Regions from separate parts of the Homo sapiens genome. Here region 1 is linked to region 2. The links are contacts of gene promoters, found by promoter capture Hi-C in human tissues and cell types (Jung and others, 2019). All regions are on one chromosome and are shown on one strand. Each heading gives the region's core, a stretch centred on a gene start or on the middle of the fragment in contact. The rest is flanking DNA. Distances are from core to core; before and after follow the strand shown. Region 1 has its middle 48 kb from the start of FAM89A. Region 2 holds the start of FAM89A (family with sequence similarity 89 member A).

Region 1 (3,951 bases), core at 1,184-3,683, 47 kb before region 2:
TAATCTCCCTGGCATTTTCCTCTATGCCAACTCCAAGGAACACTTCTCAGCTGGTGTAGTGTAGCAAGCGAGGGCGGGAGACATGTGTCCGACTTGTTTAAAAGCAATGTCAGAGAATTATTACAGATGTAAGAAATGGGCTTATGAATGTAGCAAAATATTACACGTTCATCAATATTCTAATTTTAAAACTATCTTGCATTCCTGGAAAAATAATATATTTTTAAACTCATTGCTGGATTTTATTTGCTAATATTTAAATGTTCCATCATTTTCCATGTAAGATTGAAATGAACTGTTCTTTCAATGTTTGGTAGAATTTGACTGTAAAGCATCTGAATGTATAATTGATTTTTAGCTATAGATTTTATTTCTTAACTGATTATAGAATGATTAAGATATTCAATTTCTTTTTGAGTTACTTTTGATGAGATGTATTTTTTTTGGCATGTATCCATTTCATCTAAGGTTTCAAATGTATTAGCATGAAATTATTCATATCTTATTTTATTTTTGAGATGGAGTCTTGCTCTGTCACCCAGGCTGGAGTGCAGTGGTACGATTGCAGCTTACTGCAACCTCCACCTCCCAGGTTCAAGCAATTCTCCTGCCTCAGCCTCCTGAGTAGCTGGGACTACAGGTGCCCGCTACCATGCCCAGCTAATTTTTGTATTTTTAGTAGAGACGGGGTTTTGCCATGTTGGCCAGGCTGGCCTTGAACTTCTGACCTCAGGTGATCCACCTGCCTCGGCCTCCCAAAGTGCTGGGATTACAGACGTGAGCCACTGCGCCCAGCCTTCATATCATATTTTAAATCTCTGTTGCATTTATTGTCATAGCCTTCTTTTATTATTAATCTTATTTATTTGTGCTTTCTTCCTTGTTTCCTTGATAAATCTTGCCAGAGTTTGAGCTATTTTAATAGTATTTTAAGGAACCAATATTTAGCCTTATGATCTTTCTACTGTATGATTGTTATATATTTTTAAAATTTTTGCCACCTTTACTATTTCTTTTCTTTTTGTTTTACTCTACTTTTTTTAAACTTCTTAATTTAGATGTTTAGCTCATTTAATCTGAGCTTCTGTTCTATTCTTAGGTAAGCATTTAAGACAGTAAATGTCCTTCAAAGTTTTGTTTTTGCCACTCTAAAAATTTGTATATGTGTTACATTTGCTATGGCTCAGTCCTAAGTTTTAAAAATTTCCATTGTGGCAGCTTTCTTTGCCTCTGAGCTATGTAGAAGTGTGTTTTTTGATATCCTTTATGTGCTGGAGATTTTTCTTGGTGTCTTTTTTTGTCATGGATTTAATTGTATTGTTGCCAGATGTGATCTGTATGATTCCAGTCATTTGAAATTTGTTGAAGTTTGCTCTATGATCTAGCCTATGGCTAGTTTTTAAAAATATTACATGTGGTTGAAAATAATATATATTCTCTAATTTTTAGAGGCAATGTTCTTCATAAATTCATCAACTAACCCGATATATTAATATGCCCTTCAAATCTTCTATATCCTTAAAGATTTTTTTGGCCTGCTTGTTCTATCAATTACAAAGAGAAGTATAGCATAATTTCCACTATTGATGGTAGATTTGAAATTTTCTGCTCATTCCTCTGTTAATTATTGCTTTACATTTATATATACATATATATTTTAGAGACGGAGTCTCAGTATGTTGCTCAGACTGGTATTGAACTCCCGGGCTCAAGCAATCCTTCCACCTCAGCCTTCCAAAGTGCTGAGATTACAGGTGTGAGCCACCATGCTGGGCCTTCTAAAATATATAATTAAAACTAATTTCACCTGTGTCTTCTTTTAAAATGTGGTTACTAGAATCCTTCCTTCCTTCCTTTCCTTCCTTCCTTCCTTCCCTTCCTTCCTTCCTTCCTTCCTTCCTTCCTTCCTTCCTTCCTTCCTTCCTTCCTTCCTTCCTTCCCTCCTTTTCTCTCTCTCTCTCTCTCTTTCTCTTTCCTTCCTTCTTTGTTTTTTTTTTTTGACAGAGTCTCACTCTGTCGCCCAGGCGGGAATGCAGTGGTGCGATCTCAGCTCACTGCAGGCTCGACGCCCCTGGACTCAGGTGATCCTTCCACCTCAGCCTCCCAAATAACTGGAACTATAGGTGCATGCCACCATGCCCAGCTAATTTTTTTTTTTTTTGTATTTTTGGTAAGAGGCAGGGTTTTGCCATGTTGCCCAGGCTGGTCTCAAACTCCTGGTCTCAAGCGATCCACCTGTCTCAGCCTCCCAAAGTGCTAGGATTACAGGTGTGAGCCACCATACCCAGCCAGAAATCTTAAAATTACATATGCATCTTGCATTCGTTGTGTGTGTTTATATATAAATATATATATATCTATATATATAATCTAGCATTTTGTTTCTGTTGGACAGCACTGGTTTAGAGATTACATTGAATATTTTATTACAATATTTAACTTAAAGTGTAAAGTGAACAAAAATCTTTACTTCTTCCTGAACAGTAGAAATATCAGAATGATTTAATGAAGCTCAGGGTGGTCTCAAACTCCTAGCTCAAGCGATTCTCCCACCTTGGCCTCCCAAAGTTCTGGAATTACAGGGATGAGCTGCCACGTCTGTCAGATAAGCTATGATTTTAAAAAATTTGGTGGATGTGACAGGGTATCTCCATAGATGCAAAAAAATTGATAATATTAATATCATCCATTATTTTTAAAATAATTATTAGCAAGCTAGGAGTAAAAGAGACTTCCTTAGCTGATTTTTAAAAAGCATCTGCAAAACACTTACAGCAAACACAATACTTAAAGGTGAAATATTGAACTCATCTTGTTAAGATCAGGAAAAAAGTCACAGCACAATTGATTTCACTTCTTTGCCAGTGCAGTAAAACAAGGGGGAAAATACGGATTGGAAAGGGAGAAACAAAACTGTTATTACTTGAGCATGATATCATTGCCTATGTAGAAAACCCCAAAGAATCTACAGGTACATTATCAAAATTAATAAGAGATTTGGCCGGGCACGGTGCCTCATGCCTGTAATCCCAGCACTTTGGGAGGCCGAGGCGGGTGGATCACCTGAGGTTGGGAGCTCAAGACCAGCCTGACCAACATGGAGAAACCCCGTCTCTACTAAAAATACAAAATTAGCTGGGCGTGGTGACACATGCCTGTAATCCCAGCTACATGGGAGGCTGAGGCAGGAGAATCGCTTGAACCTGGGAGGCAGAGGTTGCAGTGAGCCAACATGGCGCCATTGCACTCCAGCCTGGGCAACAAGACCGAAACTCCATCTCAAAAAAAAAAAAAAAAAAAAAAAAGAGAGATTTTAGTTCAGGTGCAGTGGCTCATTCCTATAATTCCAGCACTTTGGGAGGCTGAGGCAAGAGGATCATCTGAGGCCAGGAGTTTGAAACCAGCCTGGGCAATATAGTGAGAACTCAGCTCTACAAAACAACAAAAATTAGCTGGATATGGTGGCACACACATGTAGTTCTAGCTACTCGGGAGGCTGATGAGGAAGGAGATCCCTTGAGCCCAGGACCTCAAGGTTACAGTGAGCTACAATCCACCCTGGGAGACAGTGTGAGACCCCCATTGCAAAACAAAAACCCAGAAACTATATGGCTAAATACAAAATCAATATTTTGACTGCATTTCAATTGCATTTCTACATACCTACTTTAATCAGTTATAAAAGGTAATTTTAAAAAAGATTTGTACTAGCAACAGAAAGGTAAAATGCCTAGGAACAAATCTAATATTCAAGTCCCCTTTATGGAGACAAAGGATAAAACTTTAACGAAAATCATGAAAGATCACCTAAGCAAATGAAAAATATGCCATATTCCTAAATAGGTAGGCTCAATATCTTAAAATGTAATTTCTCTTCCAATCTGTATTTTAATGCAATTCCAATGAAAATTCCCACACAGTTGTTTTCTTTGCTGCTGTTGCTTTTTCTCC
Region 2 (4,356 bases), core at 1,806-4,305:
TCCAGTCTCAGGTATTTTGTTATAGCAGCCTAAATGGACTAAGGTAATGTTTCAGTGGCTTAATGCAAAAAAACACACTGTCAGAAGTTATTTACTACTTCTCTCTCATTATAAGCATGAACTTTAAAAGGTACTTTATATTGGCATTTGAATAAACAGACACTAACATTCCCCAAGGATGTCAAAATATTTGTTATATAATAGTTTCAGGCTTGTACAAATAATGTCTTCACCAGCACCACAGAAATTCTGTAGAAACTTCTCCTTACCCTGGGATATTATTTGTTGATACTGATTTCAATACTCTTACCTCACTGAGTATAGGCCAGAACGCAGAGCCTGCCTTTAAAATGTTAAGGTTGGCCTGGCGTGGTGGCTCATGCCTGTAATCCCAGCACTTTGGGAGGCTGAGGTGGGTAGATCGTGAGGTCAGGAGTTCAAGACCAGCCTGGCCAAGATGGTGATGGGTATGGTGGCGGGTGCCTGTAATCCCAGCTACTTGGGAGGCTGAGGCGGAGAATTGCTTGAACCCGAGAGGTGGAGGTTGCAGTGAGCCAAGATCGCGCCACTGCACTCCAGCTTGGGCGACAGAGTGAGACTCCATCTCAAAAAAGAAAAAAAAAATTGGTAAGGTTGGCATTGTCTAAGTTGTGCCTCTTTTCTCGAGTCCTGACACCACGGACCTCATGCTGCTGTCTAGCTGACCCTAACCTCCTTTTCCTTCTGTAATCCGTAATTCTCTGAAGTATGTGCTTTAAAATGCTTTCAGTGCCCCGATACTTCAAAGTGATTTCTTTTCTTATTTCACCATCACATAGCTGAATCTCCTATCACCTACCTTGAGTGATTTCTGCTAGGTACTACAGGTGAGACTGCATTGTAACCAGTGAAATTAAAGAAATTCATGCAGGCTGGGCGCGATGGCTCACACCTGTAATCCCAGCACTTTGGGAGGCCGAGGTGGGTGGATCACCTGAGGTCAGGAGTTCGAGACCAGCCTGGCCAACATCGTGAAACCCCATTTCTACTAAAAATACAAAAATTAGTCGGGCGTCGTGGCACATGCCTGTAATTCCAGCTACTTGGGAGGCAGAGACAGGAGAATTGCTTGACCCAGGAGGCAGAGGTTGCAGTGAGCTGAGATCACGCCACTGCACTCTAGCTTGAGTGATAGACTGTCTCATAAAAAAAAAAAAATTCATGCTAAGGTGTGAACCGAATGTCAAAATGCTTCCCACCCCTTCCTCTCCCTTACTCCCACACAGGCAGACTGGTCACTCTCCTGAAGACACCCACCGTTTACATAAGTGAATGAATAAATACCTGACATCCAGAAATGTGACTAGGTAATTAGTAGAAGGTGAGGCACAGTGAAGAGGCGGAAAATTCTGGGCAGTGGGTGGGGTGGGAAGCCTGGGTGCTGTCAATCACACCGCCTGCACTAAAGCTTCTTCATATCAGTCTCACCCACTTGCAACCGTCCAGGGAGAATATTGTGCCAATTTCAAAGACACTGCTTCTGGGGTGGGCTCTAGGAGGTGGTAAAGGGTATAAAACAACCCAAAGTGCAGGGCTCTTTTATGTTGGGTGTCTGAAGTGCTCAGAACACTTTATAATTTTGATCCCCTTGAATGTAGCTAGAAAATTAAATCCCTTTATAATTAAAGCCAATAATGAATGGGCATTAAAGTTATCCAATCTATACACTGCATTAGTTTTTAATCTGCGGTTGGGCTGTAGCGTTTACTTCTTGATCTTTTCTATCTCTAATCTGGTTATAACTGCCTGTCATTTTTACTTTTCCTGGGAGGGGCAGAGTCTCTCTCTCTCTTCTCTTTTCCTCTGAGGTGTGCGTCGTGTTTATTTTTGCCTGAGCTGATGGATAATTTCCGAGATTTAATCCCTTTCTCTGGTTTCCTGACATTTCCACTTAGAGTTACTCTTGTGTTTATGGCCAGAATGAAAGGCATGTTTACTAGTGTTTTGAAGTTTCAAAAGTGGGTCTGGCGTTCTTGCTGACTGCTGCGGGTACTGCTGGACAAGGCCGTGCTGAGAAGGCCAGCGCGCCCGGCGGCAAGGAGCGACCTGCCCGGGTCTGGGGCCCCCAGCCGCCCCCCGCGGCGAGTGGGAGGCAGCAGGAGGCGGGCTGGATTCCGCCCTCGGGGAGGGCCGGGGGTCCTGGGACCAGAGCCAGGCCTCCTGCCCTCGACGTCCTGCCGGTTGTGAGCCAGAGCCTCGGTACCCCCACCCCCTGCAACGGCCTGCTTCGTGGGATCTGAAGCTGGGCCGCCCCCTGGGCAGGGCAGGGATCGGTGAGGCAAGGAGCTGAGGAGCGCTGGCAGGTAAGGGGGAAGTCTGGAGCCGGGTTGGAGGTGAGCGGGCGTTGAGGGGTGGGACAGAGGGAGTGGAGACGGGGCTGGGGGCGAGCCAGTGAACTGGGGGTGGCACAGAGGAGGTGGGAGCAGAGATGGGGGTGATCCGGAAGCCTGGGGTGGGGGGTGAGTGGGTTCGGAGCTGAGGGTGAGCCAGTGAGCTGAGGGTGGCACAGAGGGCGTGGGGGCGGAACTGGGGGTGAGCCGGGAAGCTGGGGGTTGGCACAGAGGAGGTGGGGACAGAGATGCGGGTGAGCCGGGAAGCTGGGGTTCGGGGTGGCGCGGGTGAGAGGGTTCGGAGCTAGGGGTGAGCCGGGAAGCTGGGAGGTGGTTCAGAGGAGGTGGGGACAGAGATGGGGGTGAACCGGGAAGCTGCGGGTCGCGGGGGGCTTAGTAGGTTCGGAGCTAGGGAGTGGCACAGAAGGGTTCGTGACGGGGCTGGAGGTGAGTCGGGGGGTTAGAGGGTAGTCACGCGGAGTTGGAGATGAATTAGGGCGCTGGAGGGGCGCGAGGGAGGAGGAGACCCGGGTGGAGGCGAGCCCGGCTGCTGGACGCGGACGCCACCCGGACCCGGGGCCCGCGCAGGGGCCTCGAGGAGAGGGGGCGGGGCCGGGGGGGCGTGGCGCGGGAGGGGAAGTGGGCGGGGCACCGCCGGGAAGGGGGCGGGCCGGGGGAAAGCCTTGGTTCGCTGCAGCGGGGCAGGCGCGTGGCCGGGCCGCGGCGCGATGAGTGGGGCCCGGGCGGCGCCCGGGGCCGCGGGCAACGGCGCGGTCCGGGGGCTGCGGGTGGACGGGCTGCCCCCGCTGCCAAAGAGCTTGAGCGGGCTGCTGCACTCGGCGTCGGGCGGCGGCGCGTCTGGGGGCTGGCGGCACCTGGAGCGGCTGTACGCGCAGAAGTCGCGCATCCAGGACGAGCTGAGCCGCGGGGGCCCGGGCGGCGGCGGGGCCCGGGCGGCAGCGCTGCCCGCCAAGCCTCCCAACCTGGACGCCGCTCTGGCGCTGCTCCGCAAAGAGATGGTGAGTGGGGCTCCGCGAGCTGGGGCTCTTCCCGGCCGGGCTCGCCGTCCCGGGAAAGTTCGCGGGGACCGCGCTCTGTCCGGAAGTCCCCGCGCCCACCCGCCCTTTCGGGCTCCTCCGCCCCAGGCGCCGGCGCCGTCCTCCCAACGACCCCCATTTTTCTCGCGTGCTCCGTGCCCACGATTGGAACCCCCGCGGGAGAGCCCCGCGCGCAGAGGGCGGCTTTCTTATGCCCGGCGCCCTCAGTCCGGCCCCGCTGGCTCGGAAACCTGGGCGCCCGGAAGCGCTGTGCGGGGTTCGTGCCTGGCCTGGGGGCGGGGGCGGCCTTGTCACCTCTCCCCGAGTGAAACAGACCTTCCCGGTGGGGGAAAGGCTTTCACAGCGGCCCAACGGATTAACGCGATTGCGTTTTCCTACCACGAAGAGGACAACTTTTGTCCGCCGCCAGTGTAGACAGCAGATTGGAACAGCCCGGCCCCCTTTCCGGCGCCCCAGGCCGCGCGTCCGTGATCCGATTACCGCGGGATGGCCCCGGCGCACAGATGGCTGCGAAAGCAGACGCGCACCCCGGGCGAGGGAGGCGGCCGGGTCCCTCAGCCCCGCGAAGCTGATTGCCCAAACCCTCTTGAGAAAGGTGGGAGGTGGCTGTCCTCCCGGTCTGGGTGCTGTCCATGTGAGTTCTTCGCCTTGTGTCTAAGCTCCATACCATGGGCTCAGTGTTTCTCTGTGCTTGGGAAGTACATTAGCTGTTTGTGGACCAGAACACACATGATTTAGGGTGACGCTAAAAGTAGGACAAGGGCAGGGATTTAGGCAACAGCGAGTCTTTCCCCAGCTTTCTCGGCCAGGCGTAGGCCAGGCAAGAAGAAATCAAAAACTTTTCCTCTTTTCTACCATCTTACTGGCCCCCATCACCTCCTCCCAATCCCCTCGTTTTAAAAGCCTCCCTTTCCATTCACCTCGTCCAG

What was found. Contacts are between HindIII fragments. The study calls those that stand out against the background at their distance.
Region 1: a contact is called between a fragment that was not itself captured here and the fragment with the promoter of FAM89A in region 2, in 1 of the 25 tissues and cell types used here (bladder).

What each region holds. Positions count from the first base shown.
Region 1 is chr1:231,085,952-231,089,902 of GRCh38, reverse strand. No RefSeq gene overlaps it. Among named protein-coding and RNA genes, the nearest start is that of FAM89A, 48 kb to the right of the region's middle. The HindIII fragment of the contact is 5,041 bases long and covers 1-3,951 here.
Region 2 is chr1:231,038,953-231,043,308 of GRCh38, reverse strand. FAM89A (family with sequence similarity 89 member A) reads left to right here and starts at 3,055. Exons shown (of 2, transcript NM_198552.3): 1 at 3,055-3,388. The coding sequence starts at 3,098. RefSeq lists silencers at 2,894-3,003, 3,264-3,313, 3,954-4,033 and an enhancer at 3,696-4,356. The HindIII fragment of the contact is 5,242 bases long and covers 56-4,356 here.